Linked DNA regions of Homo sapiens: region 1 is linked to region 2. The links are contacts of gene promoters, found by promoter capture Hi-C in human tissues and cell types (Jung and others, 2019). All regions are on one chromosome and are shown on one strand. Each heading gives the region's core, a stretch centred on a gene start or on the middle of the fragment in contact. The rest is flanking DNA. Distances are from core to core; before and after follow the strand shown. Region 1 overlaps SIK2 (salt inducible kinase 2). Region 2 holds the start of ALG9 (ALG9 alpha-1,2-mannosyltransferase).

Region 1 (3,324 bases), core at 169-2,668, 180 kb after region 2:
AAAATGAACCATGTTTGATACTTCTATTCCATTTTGTTTTATAAACACAAAAATATTTTAATTTTGTGCTTCTCTTCAATTTCAATATACAAGATGGCTAAAGCAGTTCATTTATTCAGCTTATTTTGCAATTAAAGAGATTTTCATAAGCCAAAAAAAAAACCCAGAAAAAAGTATAATTTGAGGGAATAACTTTGTAAGGGTTCTTGTAATTTCTTCCCACAGAGCCCTATTTTTCCCATGTGTTAGATTCCATTAAGATTTAAGAGTTCTCAGAGATAAGAAGATGATCCTTAAAGAAAATCAGGGCCATCAAGAAGTTATAAAATTTACAGATAAAAATAAATATCCTAGAGAAATTCTTTAAAGACATTGGAATCCATCTAAACACTTTATAGCACGTGAATGATCTGGCCCATGCCCGCCTCTCCTGGCTTTTTTCCTATCATTCTCACTGGCTAATACCTGCAGTTTCCTTACCACTCCAATTCGCTCTGGCCTCTCAGCCTTTGCATGTGTGGATCCATCTGCTTGAGGCAGATACCCCAGCCTCGATCTCTATCTCTCTCTCTCCCTCTCTCCTTTTTGTGTTTTTTTTTTTTTTTTTTTTTTTTTTTTTTTTTTTTTTGAGACTGAGTCTCGCTCTGTTGCCTAGGCTGGAGTGCAGTGGCAGGATCTCAGCTCACTGCAACCTCCACCTCCTGGGTTCAAGCAATTCTCCTGCCTCAGCCTCCGGAGTAGCTGGGACTACAGGCGCATGCTGCCATTCCTGGCTAATTTTCTGTATTTTAGTAGAGACGAGGTTTCACCATGTTGCCCAGGCTGGTCTCGAACTCCTGAGCTCAGGCAATCTGCCCGTCTTGGCCTCCCAAAGTGCTAGGATTACAGGCATAAGCCACCGAGCCTGGCCTCTCCCTCTTTCTTTCTCTGTCTCCCCGATCCCCAATCCTGCCACAAATACCTTCTTGTTAATCAAGTGTTAGCTAATAATTTCCCTGATTCTTCCAGACAGAGTTAGTCTTTCTCCTAGCCTCATGTCCCTGAAAACAATGATCTTTTTGTGTTATATTAACTTAAAGGTCTGGTTCTTATTTGATTAACTCCTTGAGGTAAGAGCAGAGTTAAGCTTTTTGTCACTGCTGCTGTTTTTGTCTTGAAATGTATGAATATCCAGGACTTAGTCCAAGAGCAGAGTAGAAGCTTAATAAACATTTACTAAAATTTTTGAGGATAGTGGAGATGATAGAGAATTAAGTGTGGGCAAGAAAATTTGAGTGCTTAGATATACTCTGTGCACACATGTGTGTGTGTGTCTGCTTGTAATGAATGGAAGCAGGGACACTAAATGTACAACCATAGAATGATGGACCCCAAAATTCAATTAGTGAGTACCCCTTTAGGAAGAAGTGACACAGAATGCTTGGAAATGACAAAATGGTGTAGTGGGAGAAGGACAGATACTGTGGTCAGAGAGACCTAGGTTTGAATTCCAGGTCTGCTACTTATTATCTGTGTCAGCTCGGCCAATTTTTTAATCTCTTTGCATCTCAGCTTTCTCATCTAGTAACTGGCAATAGCTAAGCGGCTCCCAAGATTGCTGTGAAGATGAAGTAAGTATCTAGCAGAATACCTGAAAACAGTGAGGGCCCAATTAAATGTGAGTCATCACACTGTCTTCACCAGAGAGAACTTCACCAATCTGAATTTTTATCTGACTTCTATATAATTAGAAGGGCTTGAAGATTAGATACTAAAAAGCAAAAATAAAAACCAAAAAGACAAAACAAAAACCTAAGATATCACACAATGACATCAGAAACACTGATTTGACCCACGTATATTTTATGCCAGAATTATAATAGACATACTATAGCCAGGCAAAACTTGGTTATAACGTCAAAGCAATATTCTGTTTTTTGTTTGCAAGTTTCTTTGGTGTCTTACTTTGACATTTTCTTTTGAGATGTTAGTGACAGCACTTTGTAATTCCTACAGCATATGATTTACACACCTATAACCTTTCTCTGCCTAAAAAAACTCCTAGAACACATGTGCATGTATGTTTCTTGTAGCACTATTTACAATAGCAAAGACTTGGAACCAACCCAAATGCCTGTCAATGATAGACTGGATACAGCAAACGTGGCACATATACACAATGGAATACTACGCAGACATAAAAAAAGAATGAGTTCATGTCCTTTGCAGGGACATGGATGAAGCTGGAAACCATCATCCTCAGCAAACTAAAGGAATAGAAAACCAAACACCACATGTTCTCACTCATAAGTGGGAGTTGAACAATGAGAATACATGGACACAGGGAGGGGAACATCACACATGGGGGCCTCTTTGGGGGTGAGGGGAGGCGGGGAGGGAGAGCCTTAGGACAAATACCTAATCCATGCAGGGCTTAAAACCTAGATGACGAGTTGATAGGTGCAACAAACCACCATGGCACATGTATACCTACGTAACAAAGCTGCACATTCAGCACATGTATCCCAGAACTTAAAGTAAAAAAATAATAATAAAAAATAAAAAATAAATAAAATAGTTCTCTTGGAAAAAAAAACAACTCCTAGAACTCCTTTGTGCTATTGTTTTGGTAAATATTTCGTTTTGGTAATAAGGGAATGTAAAGGTGTAGCAGGAGTTTTCCCCCTTCTTTCTACAGAGCTAAGGACTTAAAAAAAAAAAAAAAAAGAAAGACCTTCTCTGAAAAAGACAATTTTAGGGCAGCCGATGCTTTCAAGGAGCATTAAACAAAATATCCCAGTGAAGTTCCTCACAGAAGGTTGGCAAAAAAGAGTGAAATAAATGACACCAAATGGAAGGGCCAAAAGCAGAGGAAGGGAAAAAAACAAATGGAAGTGAACAGACATAAACTATGAAAGTATTCTAATTTTGTGCATCACATTTTCACAACAAAAATGACAAATTGATATAAATCTTTATATATACGTGTATATGTGTGATATATATATATATATACACATACACACACACACAAATGAATATAACAAATTAACTTAAAAACATTTTGTCTTATTCAGGCAATCCCATTAGAAAAAAAAAATCACAGACTATAGAATGGAAAATCCATTACATATCCTGTAACATATGTAATATTGACATTTAAAATGAGTAAAAATAATTTGCCTTCCCCTAATTGCCTAAGACAAAAACTAATGGGAAATGGCACAGAAACAAATCAGTTCAATGTACAAACATGAGGGTTTTACCTTATATTTTACACCATATACAGCAAACCGAGGAAGCTACTTTGTCCCTAAACTTACTAAGTTCAATGAGTATCCAACC
Region 2 (3,339 bases), core at 233-2,732:
TTTTATTAAGGAAGTGCCCCAGAGTAGTGCTTTGGAAAATTAACTGGTTAATGTTGCACAGGATGAATTTGAGATGAGTGATCCCTGTGGAGATGCTATTGTGTTAGTCCTACGTAGACAGGGAGGGACCTGCATTAGACTTAAATGAAAAGGAGGAGATGGGTATATGAGATACAGTTAGGCTGGGTGTAGTGGCTCACGCCTATAATCCCAGCATTCTGGGAGGCTGAGGTAAGTGGATCACTTGAGGCCAGGAGTTCCAGACCAGCCTGGCCAACATGACGAAACCTAATCTCTACTAAAAATACAAAAATTAGCCAGTGTGGTGGCAATAGTCCCTGCTACTAGGGAGGCTGAGGCAAGACAATCTCTTGAACCTAGGGGGCAGAGGTTGCAGTAAGCTGAGATTGTGCCACTGCACTCTAGCCTGGGTGAGCAAGGAAGACTCTTGTCTCAAAAAAAAAAAAAAAAAAAGAAGAAAAAGAAAAGAAAAAAAGAGTTAAGCTGGATATTTGAACTTGGTAACTAATGACTGCATGTGAGAATTGAGCAATATGATCAATCTCCATTTTCAATACTTGGGAATTTTTAGTAGGAAATCACAACCTTCTGAGACCTTGTCAAGAGATTAGCATTCCCTCTATAAACTTGTCCCAGTTACTGGCATGGAGCTCGACAGGGTAGGATATAGCTCTGTGATTAGAGGAGTGGATAGAGTGTCAGGATTAGATGAATGACCCCCAAGATATGGGGGTCACAGGTATGATATCATCAATGTGCCAGTATAAAAATGATTGTAGGAAATGAAGACCTTTCACCAGATCTGGTGGGAAGAGAGAGCATGGGCTTTCCGGTAAGATAGTCCTGGGCTGGAACATAGCTCCACCATTTACTAGCTCCAAGTTTATTTAGTTTCCTGGTAAATAAAACAAGGTTGTTGTATTAAGTTTAAAAAGGATAAAATATGTAAAATGCCTACCACAATGCCGTAGTAGCGATGACAGTGATGGACATCTGGTTCAATTTGCCGCACAGAATTTCATCAGTCTACACTCTGCCATTACCGGTTTGTCTCTCTGAAGCAGTTTTTAGCTACAGGCTGCCTCTGTCACTCTTACCAAAATACAGAGAAGGCAAGGTGTTAAAAATGACATTTTAAGGACCTTTTAGTAGATAGCTGTGCTGTGATATTTAACTGAATACTTCACATCTCACTATGTAGATTTCTTTAATCACTTTCTATTTGTTTTTTCATTTAAATAGGGGAGCTGAGAGGTGGTTTTTTTTTTTTTTGAGAATGGAGAATGCTGAAAAGTGACGGAAAAGAGGGTTGGAGGGAGGTAGGAATGGCTAGAGTTAGAAGCAGGTGGATGGGACAGCCCTGATGAAGAAACTCCTCAGGTTCTATTTCTTCGCTACTCGGGGATCTGCCCCAATTGGCCCAGTAACGCTATAATTTAGTATTTTCTGCGCATGTCAAGGTCTTTTGTCCCTCGGCGGACACCGTTTGCCAGCCAAAGCTATGTCTGCGCGCTCACCGACTTCATAGGGTGCCGAATTCTTTTTTCCCCAGGCTTGCCATGGCTAGTCGAGGGGCTCGGCAGCGCCTGAAGGGCAGCGGGGCCAGCAGTGGGGATACGGCCCCGGCTGCGGACAAGCTGCGGGAGCTGCTGGGCAGCCGAGAGGCGGGCGGCGCGGAGCACCGGACCGAGTACGTGTGCGGCGCGGCAGGGGCGTGGCCGGCCGGCGGGGCGGTTCGGGGCTGCCCCCGGGAGGGTCTTAGCTGTGGCGCGCGGGGCTCAGTCCGGCCTGGCCTCACCGCGGGAGGCCCGAGCTCCCTCTTCAGCTAGGTCCTATTGGTCTTCCTGGGCGGGTCAGCATTCAGTCTTCGCCCACCTTAGATCCCTCCACTGCGCTGTAAAACTGCCTTGGAGTGCGGATCTGTGATGCTCCTGGGCCAGGCCTAGAGTGGGCACAGCCTCTGTGGGAGATGTAGACAGGATCAAAGAGTATACCTTTTACGGCTGTTCCTCACAGCTCCTTTTATTCTCCCTCAAGTCCCGACCCTTTACTGGGCCCATCCAACCCGCCATCACCTCTTCCCAAACCCTGGAGGCTGCAGGTTAGAACTGCATTAAGGGAGCTGTCAACATATGGAATTGGAGTAGGCTATGTACCTTGCACCTAGGCTTCTATCTGAACATAAGGGGGAATGAATAAAGCCATCAAAAGCAATGACCTTGTTAAGAAAAGAAAGAAAAGGAGAATGACAGCTTTGTGGCCTTCAAGTGAGTGATTAGTTGGCTTGGGATAAATGGAGTGACATAAATGCATTGAGCTAAAGTGTATGAGTTAATTTATGCCTTAAAAGCAGGAAGTGGAAGGAGTGATTGAGTGATTAAAGTCAATTCTTCAGAAGGCTGAGGCAGGAGGATTACTTGAGCCTAGGAGTTTAAGTCCAGCCTGGGCAACATAGCAAGACCCTATCTCATAAAAATTTTTTCTTAAAAATCTGAATTTTTATTAATTTTACTGAGAAAAAACAACTAGCTATTCACCTTTTTAGGTGAATAACTTAAGTGCTTTGATGTCCCTTGCCCTTTTTGTCCTTTCTATCTAGATTTAGGTCTTCTGATTAGCAGGTCCTTCCTGACATGCTTTTTTTTTTTTTTTTTTTTTTGCTTTTGAACAGGTTATCTGGGAACAAAGCAGGACAAGTCTGGGCACCTGAAGGATCTACTGCTTTCAAGTGTCTGCTTTCAGCAAGGTTATGTGCTGCTCTCCTGAGCAACATCTCTGACTGTGATGAAACATTCAACTACTGGGAGCCAGTAGGTGATTTCTTTAGTTTTCTCTTTTTGTTCTTGATTTTGCAGCATAGGTGTTATTACCAATCGAGAGACAAATAATATACAAGTGTGACTCCTAGTAAAATAACTGTATTTTCTTAAAAAAAAAAACAAAAAAACAGGCCTATAATCCCAGCACTTTGGGAGGCTGAGGCCGGTGAATTGCCTGAGGTCAGAAATTCGAGACCAGCCTGACCAACATGGTGAAACCCCGACTCTACTAAAAATACAAAAATTAGCCGGGCATGGTGGTGGGCGCCTGTAGTCCCAGCTACTCGGGAGGCTGAGGCAGGAGAAATGCTTGATCATGGGAGGCAGAGTTTACAGTGAGCCGAGATCACACCATTGCACTCCAGCCTGGGCAACAGAGCGAGACTCTGTCTCAAAAAACAGAGATGGGGGCTCATTATGTCACCGAGGCTGGTATTTAACTCCTAGGCTCAAGCGATCCTCTCACCTCGCCTTCCAAAGTGTTGGGATTACAGGCGTG

The links. Contacts are between HindIII fragments. The study calls those that stand out against the background at their distance.
Region 1: a contact is called between a fragment that was not itself captured here and the fragment with the promoter of ALG9 in region 2, in 1 of the 25 tissues and cell types used here (mesendoderm cells).

The regions. Positions count from the first base shown.
Region 1 is chr11:111,689,655-111,692,978 of GRCh38, reverse strand. The region is part of intron 4 of SIK2 (salt inducible kinase 2); the gene reads right to left. It also overlaps a transcript of PPP2R1B not described here. Among named protein-coding and RNA genes, the nearest start is that of PPP2R1B, 75 kb to the left of the region's middle. RefSeq lists an enhancer at 1-357. The HindIII fragment of the contact is 5,056 bases long and covers 1-3,324 here.
Region 2 is chr11:111,869,724-111,873,062 of GRCh38, reverse strand. ALG9 (ALG9 alpha-1,2-mannosyltransferase) reads left to right here and starts at 1,482. Exons shown (of 15, transcript NM_024740.2): 1 at 1,482-1,711; 2 at 2,693-2,831. The coding sequence starts at 1,581. RefSeq lists a silencer at 1,537-1,846. The HindIII fragment of the contact is 8,331 bases long and covers 1-3,339 here.